Linked DNA regions of Homo sapiens: region 1 is linked to region 2. The links are contacts of gene promoters, found by promoter capture Hi-C in human tissues and cell types (Jung and others, 2019). All regions are on one chromosome and are shown on one strand. Each heading gives the region's core, a stretch centred on a gene start or on the middle of the fragment in contact. The rest is flanking DNA. Distances are from core to core; before and after follow the strand shown.

The links. The method cuts DNA at HindIII sites, captures the fragments that hold promoters and counts their contacts. A contact is called where the count stands out against the background at its distance.
Region 1: a contact is called between a fragment that was not itself captured here and the fragment with the promoter of RILPL1 in region 2, in 1 of the 25 tissues and cell types used here (lymphoblastoid cells).

The regions. Positions count from the first base shown.
Region 1 is chr12:123,140,791-123,145,533 of GRCh38, forward strand. The region is part of intron 1 of PITPNM2 (phosphatidylinositol transfer protein membrane associated 2); the gene reads right to left. Among named protein-coding and RNA genes, the nearest start is that of PITPNM2, 7.9 kb to the right of the region's middle. The HindIII fragment of the contact is 5,243 bases long and covers 817-4,743 here.
Region 2 is chr12:123,530,343-123,534,994 of GRCh38, forward strand. RILPL1 (Rab interacting lysosomal protein like 1) reads right to left here and starts at 3,377. Exons shown (of 7, transcript NM_178314.5): 1 at 2,832-3,377. The coding sequence starts at 3,140. RefSeq lists an enhancer at 2,378-3,195 and silencers at 3,411-4,100, 4,120-4,305. The HindIII fragment of the contact is 25,082 bases long and covers 1-4,652 here.

The DNA of each region.
Region 1 (4,743 bases), core at 2,188-4,687, 390 kb before region 2:
GTAGGTCCAAATTTGGCCTCAAAGTCACATAGACAGATGTGATCCCAGAGCATGTAATCCTGTCTTGGTGAATCTGCTCTAAGTCCATGCATCCCTTTGGCCTCTTTGAAAAGGAAAAGCTACAGAACAAACAGAAGAGGAATTCTGTTTTCCTCTTGGAAAAAAGAAAAGGGAAAAAAAAAAACCCCATACAAACCCAAATTGAAAGGTACTTTGTACTGCTTAGACTCAACTAGATCAGGAAATACTGATGGATTTTTTAAAACAACAGCACAGGCTGTGTAACAGAACATGACCAAACACAAGCATGAACATGAGGGATCAGGTCTAGAGTCCAGCCAGCAGTTAACTCCCTGTGTGGTGAGGCCTAAGTCATGACATCTCTGAGTCTTAGGGTCCCCATCTGTGAGACACAAAAAATGAAAGCACTGAGGGCCATACCATGACTTCTCTGAGCCTCAGTTTCCTCACCTGTAAAATGGGCACAGCAACATTTGTGAGAGTCCTGTGAAGCACAATGGGCAGAAGTATGCCATGCACTGCGGTGTCTTAGACAAAAGGTGGGTAAGCGGGAAAGGCCCCTCCCCTCTGCACCTCCAGCCACTGCCTCTGCAAGAACAATCCACAGACGCTGGATCACTACCATGCCACTGGGCCTGGCACCAGCAACTCAAACACAAATAGCTAAGATCCCCCCAGCCTGAGAAGCAGCTGGGATACGCCAGGGATGCCTCTGGTTTGGAGGCTTCCCTGGAGAAAGAAGAGCAGCCGTCTCCTGGAGAGGGAAGAGCAGCCGTCTCCTGGAGCAGGAATCTTAAGCACCAGAAAAGCCCATAACACAGAGTCGACGAGGCTGGGTATGGTATAGGAGCCACTGGCCTGAACCCTGCAAGCACCAGTCCTGCAGCTCCCAGGCCACCAAGACAAACCTGAGTGAGCTGCACGTCCCAGATTTTATGAGCCGGCCTCCAGCTCACTAGCTGTGTCCTTGAGTCTTAATCCCGCTCCACTGCCAACACCCCACACCCAGCCCTGTGATCTCAGGGTTTCAGGGAAATGGAAAGTCATTCCCCTTTGTGGAAAGGTCAAACCCTTGGACTCGGTTTTTTCCAGTGCTCCTTCTGGCTCTCCTATTTGTTTGATTCTAAATTCCTTTATCCCCCCTGCTGGAAAGTCAGACAGAACATTCCTCAGGAAAGAGAACTTTTAGTGGGGGTGTGGTGGGGAGGAATAATTGAAGTAAAATGAAAAATGGGTGAAATCAGGTACTATAAAATCTTGGTATTCAAAGAGTGCACGACAAATTGCACCGGTCAGCAGTCACTACCGTGAACTCACAATGCTCTGGTGAGTCACCCAAGGCTGGGAACTGAAGTCAAACTAATACTCTCTATCACAGTACAGGACAGGAGCTCAGCTGCATACTAATGGCAAGAATCCGCTAAATGCATCCCTTGCTACTCCCAGCAGCAAATGCATAAGCTATTTCACACTCAAATATAAATTAGTGAGCTATTTTCCTTGCTGGGTTAATACAAATCGTGCTCTGGACCAATTAAGTAAGCCACTTCAAAACTTTGCTTCAGCGTATTGGAAAATGTCCCGCTTAGGGGAAGAATGAAGTCTCGAGTGATGCATGCCCAACTGATGGCGAAATAGGTGAGAGTGCTTTCAGAATTCTTGAGGATTTTGTTATTAATGGTGTTTTAGTGTTGGGTTCTTAAACACATCAAACAAATTTCCTTTAAACTAGTAGTTCCTGACTGCCATGGGGAAGGCTGCAGGCCTCCCACCTCCCAGATGGTTCAACCACAATAAACGTTTGGCCTGTCAGATGCACAACACTGATGAACTAATTGAAATATGCTGCAACAAGCAAACCCAAAATAAATGTAAAATAATTGTTTCCTTACACGATAACCCGCTGAAGTGCCTCCACGTCTGGCCACCCCTGCTGATTGAATGTTCCCCCTGCTCCGTGAGCCTCACTTATGTGTGGTTTTCAAAGGATTTAAATGCTTTTTTCCAGTGTGATTACCCACATGGGAAAAATTCTAATTGCAAAAAATGTTGAGTTTTTCTCCCTCTTATGAAAAAAAAAAAAAAGCAAGTGAAAAGTCAACTGTTATAAAGTACCAAGGAAAGCACTTAAATGGGCCCTTCAGTGTGAGAGGAAGAATGTCCTCCTGTTCTCCAGAGCACCGTCGCCAAGCCAGTGTTAAGCACGCATCCACACCTGTGGGGAAGCCCTGCCTCTCAGACAACCTCACGCCACTGATGAAAGCTGGGAATAGCCACCTATTTCTACCCTGACACACCCATCCCTATCCCCCTCCCCCCTCCCTCGATCCCTCCCTCCAAGGGGCTGTCTAGAGAGACAGCAGAGGGTGGAGCCAGCAGCACCCATAACAAGCTCTCCCACTGGCTCACCACCTCATGCAGGACACTGGTGCCCAGTGAGCCCTCCCTAGGGGGCTGGGAAGCCCAAGGGCCTGATTCTAATCCCAGGAGGACAACAGAAGCAAAGTGCACAGCCCTGCTCCACAGCACAGCCTGTGAGTCAGACTTGGAAGGGAAGCCCCCCAGCTGCCAAAAGAGAAAATTCAGGCCCTCCCCAGGAGCCACCTCTCAAAAGGGGAAATAAACAGCTCTGCAGAGGAGAAACAGTAATAATCCGTATGACGTACGTACGAACTCTTAAGAGGGCACACAACAGGCAAAAGACTTGGGAAAGCTTCCTCTGAGAGAGCCCAGGCATAAGAAGGCCACAATTTGAGGCATGGGGGCCCCAGGAACCCCCCATCTTGGCCTGAAACACCTCCGTAAGAGGATTATTCCTTTGGGAGAAGGATTGGTCTCAGCTCCTAAGAAAGGCCAAGTCTATTGCAGGGCTGCCGCCAGAACCCACTGCATGAAAGTACAGGGTCCCTCCTACCTGTAGACTTGAGCAGAGAGAGATGGGCACCATTCTGCTGGCAGCAGCCCTTCTAGAAGAAGCTACAGCAGGGCTGAGGGAGGACAGCTTGTCTTTCTGTAGCACCTAAGACAAGCAAACACAAGAATCTGCCCACAGCCTCATCCCGCAGCTCCAGTCTTCATCCATTAAGTACCATCAGCATTGTGAGGTGCCCTGAGCTAGGCTGGATACACCGTGGGGGCTGACATGATGCCAAAGGTGGCAGATCCTCACTATCCATGGATTCCATATTTGTGAATTACCCTAGTCACTAAAATTTATCTGTAACCCCAAAATCAATGCTCATGGTGCTTTCAAATTCATTTTCAAATTTGTGCAAATTGGCAAAAAATTTGAGTTGCCTGATGGCACATTCCCTGCTGAGGTTGAACGAGGGGACATCCTCTATCTTCCCATCTCAGCTCTCCTAATGGAAACACGTGTCCTTTTTGTGGTCTGTGCAGTGCCACATTTTTGGCACTTGTGTGCTTTGTGTTGGTGATTTTGCTGTTTGGAATGGCCCCCAATCACAGTGCTGAGGTGCAGTCTAGTTCTTGGGTGCAAGATGATTATGATGTGCAGAGAAAATCTCTTGTGTTAGAGAAGCTTCATTCAGACATGAGTCACAGTGTTGATGGCCAGGAGTTTAATGTTAATGAATCAATGATACATATTAAATAGGGTGTCTTTTTTGTTGTTGTTTTGAGACAGAGTCTCACTCTGTCGCCAGGCCAGAGTGCAGGGGCACGATCTCGGCTCACTGCAACCTCCACCTCCTGGGTTCAAGCAATTCTCCTGCCTTAGCCTCCTGAGTAGCTGGGATTACAGATGGACACCACCAAACCCAGCTAATTTTTGTATTTTTAGTAGAGATGGGGTTTCACCATGTTGGCCAGGATGGTCTCGATCTCTTGACCTCATTATCTGCCCACCTCGGCCTCCCAAAGTGCTAGGATTACAGGCATGAGCCACTGTGCCCAGCCAATTTTTGTATTTTTAGTAGACACAGGGTTTCACCATGTTGGCCAGTCTGGTCTCGAACTCCTGACCTCAGGTAATCCACCCGCCTCGGCCTCCCAAAGTGCTGGGATTATAGGCATGAGCCACCATGCCCGATCTCTTTTAACAGAAACATATATAAAATAAGATTACATATGGATTGGTTAAAGAAAATATTGTCCCCGCAGGCTCAAAGGAGCCTAACCCTGTGTTTTCCCTAGGAGCAGTGGTTCAGTGTTCACTAACTCAGTGTTTGAAGAGGGACTTTATAGAACATAACTATGTTAGCCAGCGTGGTGCACAAGTCTGTAGTCCCAGCTACTCAGGAGGCTGAGGCAGGAGGATCATTGGGCCCAGGAGTTTGAAGCTGCAGTGAGCAATGATTGCACCACTGCACTCCAGCCTGGGAGACAGAGAGAGACCCTGTCACAAAAAATAAAAAAAGAAGAACCTAACTATGGCCAACAATATGAATCAAATAACTATGCATACATGTATGCATAGTCAGGATATACTTTCCTCAGACAGAGCTATTCCACCCTACATTCATGTGCTCCTAAGGCTGCAGGTTGGCATGTCCACACCCAATAGGGAGTTTGAGCTGTCAGCTTCTGCTCCAAGGCTGGAATCAGCCTTGAGGTCTCTTGGGTCCTGCTGCTGCTCTGATAACACTCTGCCTTTTCCCTGGACCCATGACTCCCGCTGACGTCCCTGATCATGACCTCTGATCTTTCTGACTAGCCAGGTCTTAATAAGACCCCTTTCCACAATAGAGATAAGGGACTTCA
Region 2 (4,652 bases), core at 2,127-4,626:
TTTAGTAGAAATGGGGTTTTGCCATATTGGCCAAGCTGGTCTTGAATTCCTGACCTCAAGTGATCCACCCGCCTTGGCCCCCCAAAAGTGCTGGGATTACAGGTGTGAGCCACCGCGCCCAGCCAACTTCACTGTTTTTTATTAACATGGCAAAGCTGCATAATATTTCTATGGTATAGCACTACACTAAAAAGTCAGGCTCATCAGGGCCAAGGCCTCATCTGTCATGGTCATTACTGTCTTCCCAGTGCCCAGAACAATGCATGGCACACAGTAGGTTCTCAGTAAATATATTCGCTGAATGAGTGAATGAATAGCATAGTCTGGTATGTTACACGCGAGTGTATCAGCCCAGCCATTGCTTTCTAGAATTTATTTGTGTTTTCCCTTTCTTCCCTGTTACCCGCCTGCTGCCTGACATGAGACTTTGCTTTTCTCTGCAGAGCCATGGTACCAAGAAGGGCACTGTGCTCGCTATGGCCTGTCATCAGAGTTGCAGACTGAGTAATGAGACAGAACATGACACAACTGTGGCCTGCATCTGAGTGATGAGTGGAAGTGAGTGAGTGGGTCTACTGAGAGGAGGAGTAGGGGGAAGAAAGTGTATGTCCTTTACTGGAGCCATAATTGCTGAAAGCGAGAGAGACAAGGAAGAAGGGGTAGGGAAGAAGAGGGGAAAGGGAAGAGGAATGGAGGTGGACAGACTAAACCAGGACATGCCAAAAACATTTTTGTGGAAATATCACCTTGAAGAGCCTTTGAGACTCTGCAGGAAAAAAAAAAAAAAATCATACAAGTCTCTCTCCATCCCAAGAATGTGAAGTAAACGGGTCTGGGGCTGGGGTGGGAAAAGAATTGCATCCTTGATTTAGAGAGGTCATCCTCAATGTAAGTCAACAAGCCCTGGCCCTGAGCGCACGGTGTTCACTTCCCAGCTGAACACTTTCCAGAGGCAACAAGTGCAGCTGCTGACAATTCCATGTGACTTCAGACCTGGTGGCCTCCGATGGCTTCCAAGGATTTCTCCCAGCTCCCCCGCAACAGAACTAAAGAGCCCCAGTTGGGGGACAGTATAGGTGCCAGGACTTCTGTGTGATCTGGTCAAAGCCCCTTGGTCCCTGTTAATAAGAGGCGCCACACGAGAGAATTTCCAAGGTCCCTTGCCTCCTTGACCCTCTATGAGAGATGGAGGCCTCTAGGGTAGGAGTAGAGGTGCTTGGGGTGGGGACGGTTTCCTAATATGAGCCTGTGAGCACCTCAATGAATGTCTCTCCAGGCCTAAAAAGAATTTTAAGACTTGCAAAGCCCTTGCTATGGGCAGGCTCTGTCCTGAACACTTTATATGTATTTATATTAACTCTTTAAACCTCATCACATTCTAATGGGGGTACTATTACTATCCCATTTTAGAACTGAGGAAACTGAAGCACAGAGATGCTGGGTGATTTGCCCAAGATCACACAGCCTGCAAGTGGTAGGGTTTGAAACCAGGCTGTCTAGCTCCAAAGTCCTAGCTTCTAGGAGTCTTGAAATTAATTACAGGTCAAAGCATTTTCAGGCTCCCAGAGTGACCTCGGAAATGCTGCTCAACTCTTGGGAGCCTGAGTTTCCTTCCTGCCCCTAGGGCATAGGGACCCATGAGGACGAGCACAGTCAAACATGGCAATGGTGCTGTTACCTACCTGTGGGTCTGCCCTCAGGTAAAGGGTTCAGACCCAGCTTTGGCTATTTTACTCCAAAACACAGAGATCCATCAAAGTACACAATAAGGGATGGCCTGCCCCTGAGGTTCAGAGAGGCCATCTGTATTTCCTGAGGCTGAACAGCAAGCTGGAGACTGCTCAGGCACCCTGATCCCTCAAGGAAAGGTGTTTCCTCCCATTCTCAGTCTGAAGGGGCTGCCAAGAGCATCCCTGGCTGAGGTTAGGGCAGGAAACCACATGTCTTTCACTTCCTTTTCTCCAGAAACCTCGTCTGAACTCCAGGCCCAGTGGGGAGGCCCTGATTCAGAGAGACTCCTGATCACAGGGCAGAGGCTTAGCCTTAAAGCCACCCCAAATCATCCCTTTCCCCCAATTCAAACAGGGTGGGGAGGAGACACGGGGGCTGGGACTCTCTCACCACTAATTTGGGACAAATTGCTCCTCCCACTGTGACCCTCGGTTTCTTTATCTGTAAAATGAAGATAGTCTCTATAGAGTCCTGTGAGGATTAAGGATAAAATCAGAGGAGAGAACACGGGCTACCACAGGTTCATAAGCTAGGGGAGTCCCGGGAAGAAAGTTGCAAATATGAACCCGAAGACTAGGGGTCACGAAGCTCAGTGGCTGGAGGTCACATTCCCTTTGCTCTGGGGAGACTGGGGGGGGGGGGGATGAAGAAAGGGTCCTGGGCCTGATGTCACATCTTCTTGGTAACTCGGGAGGCCAAGAGGCTTATTTCATGTCTGGAAGAGAATAATATGTCTAAGCACTTAGCTTATATGGTCCCATTTAATTCTTCTAAGGTGGGTCCTATTATGATTACCATTTGACAGGTGAGGAAATAAAGCACAGAGAGGTTAAGTAACTTACCTAAAGTCACACAGCTATTAAACGGTAAAGGTGGGATTGGAACTCCAGAGAACAGCTCTTAATCTCTCGGGTGGTATCTGCCAGCCACCCCTGGTCGGGCAAAAGAAGGCCAGGGCCTCCCTCCCTCCCCACGTCGGGTCTCCTCTGGTCCGGTCCCTGAACACACACACGTGCGCACCCACAGCTGCCCAATGCGGAAGAGCCCTTGGGTCCCCGCGGTCCCACTGCCCGGACGGACAGACCGAGGCCGCCGCCCACCTTCTGGTGCTTGCGCTCCTTCTCGATGCGGTCCATCCTCTCCAGGCGCAGGCGGTCCAGCTCCAGGCGCAGCTCGTCCAGCTCGGGCGCGACGTGGTGGCGGCTGACCAGCACCTCCAGGATCTCCAGGACGCGCACGACCTTGGGCATGAGGCGCGCGATGGCCTCGCAGCCGTGCTGGTCAATGACCCGCTCGAACTCGTGGCCCACAAGCGACGCGATGTCGTACACGTCCATGACGGTCAGCTCGGCCACGTTCTTCTCCAGCGCCGACTCGGCCGCCAGCGCCGACCCCCGCTCCTCCTCCATGGCCACCCTCCTGGCCTGTCCCCCGCCCCGCAAACTCGTGCAACTCCCAAACTTGCCGCTGTCGAGGGCCGGGCCGGCCGGGCCCAGCCTGGGCCGCGGGCGGGCGCGCTCAGCGGGCGCTGGGGCGAGGGCGCAGCGGGCAGCGGGCGGCGGGCGCGGGCGCGGGCACGGGCGGCGGCGCGGGGTGTGCGGGCCCGGGGTCTGGGCGCCCGGCTCGGCCCGGAGCTGCTCCCGAGTGGGCGGCGGCGGCGGCGGCGGCGGCGGCGGCAGCGGGGAGGGCGCGCGCGTGCGCAGGCCCGCGGCGCCTCCCAAGTTGGGATCCGAGTTGCGCTCAATGGAGCCGGGCCGGGCGCCTCGGGGCGGTGCGGGCCTGAGGGGCGGCAGAGCGCGGGGCCGGAGAGGAAGGGCGGCCCGCGGCTCCTCCGGGAAACTTTGGCGGCGGCGGCTGCGAGGCCGGGTGATCGCTTCCCCACAGGGAGGCCGCGCGCCCCGCCCCAATCCCGGCCTGGCCAGGGGCGCGCCCGCTTTCCGCCGCCCGGGGGCGCCCCGGGGTACCCCCCCAAGCGCCGACTCCGCGGCCTGCACTCCGGGCCCCCCTCTCCAGCCGCCGGACCCGCGGCGCCCCTCACCCGTGCCCCGGCCGCCCCTCCCCCGCCCGGCGCTGACTCCTCCCACCACCCGGCCGCCGGGAGGGGTCCAGGCCGCCCCGGGAGAGGGGGCCGGGGGCGCTGGTCTCGCGGGACGATTCGCTGCTCCGGGTAGCGGCCCCGGCCTTGGAGAGGGATGGAGGGGTCACGAGGAGGTCCCCGGGCTGGGGCTCATCCCAGGAAGAGAACGGGGACCCCCCCCGGCCCGCAGACACTCCGCGCAGACCCGGCCACCAGGCGGACTTGCAGAGGCGCCCGGAGAGGGGCCGACGTGTCGAGGAATGCTGGATCCCCGGAGCCCCAGGGCGCGCCTCCCCGAGCCACATCCATCACTGGCTCCTTGTGACATGAACGCCACTTCACAGTAGAGCGAAGCCCGCTTGGCATTCCAGCACCACGAGTTCTCTTGTCCCAAGGCCCCCTGTCCATTTGGGCTGGCCAAATCCACTTGTCCATCAGACCCCCTCCCACTCCCGGGAGAACGTTTCCTGAACCCAGAACCCCATCCACCCTCCCCGCCCCCCACGCAGGAGTTAAGGACCCCCTTGCAAACTCACAGTCCCCTGCTTGCCCCATCAGGATTGCTCTTAGCATCCTGAGTTTTCACCGTGTGGTTGCAGGTAGGTTTCCACCGTCAGATCTTGGCTCCTTGAGGGAAGAAATCTTAATGCCCTTGTAGCCATAAAGCGCACCCCAACGTGGCACGTATTGATTAAAAATCTAAAAGTTGGCCGGGCGCGGTGGCTCACGCCTGTAATCCCAGCACTTTGGGAGACTGAGGTGGACGAGGTCAGGAGTTCAAGACCAGCCTAGCCAAGGTGGTGAAACCCCGTCTCTACTAAAAATACAAAAATTAGCCGGGCAT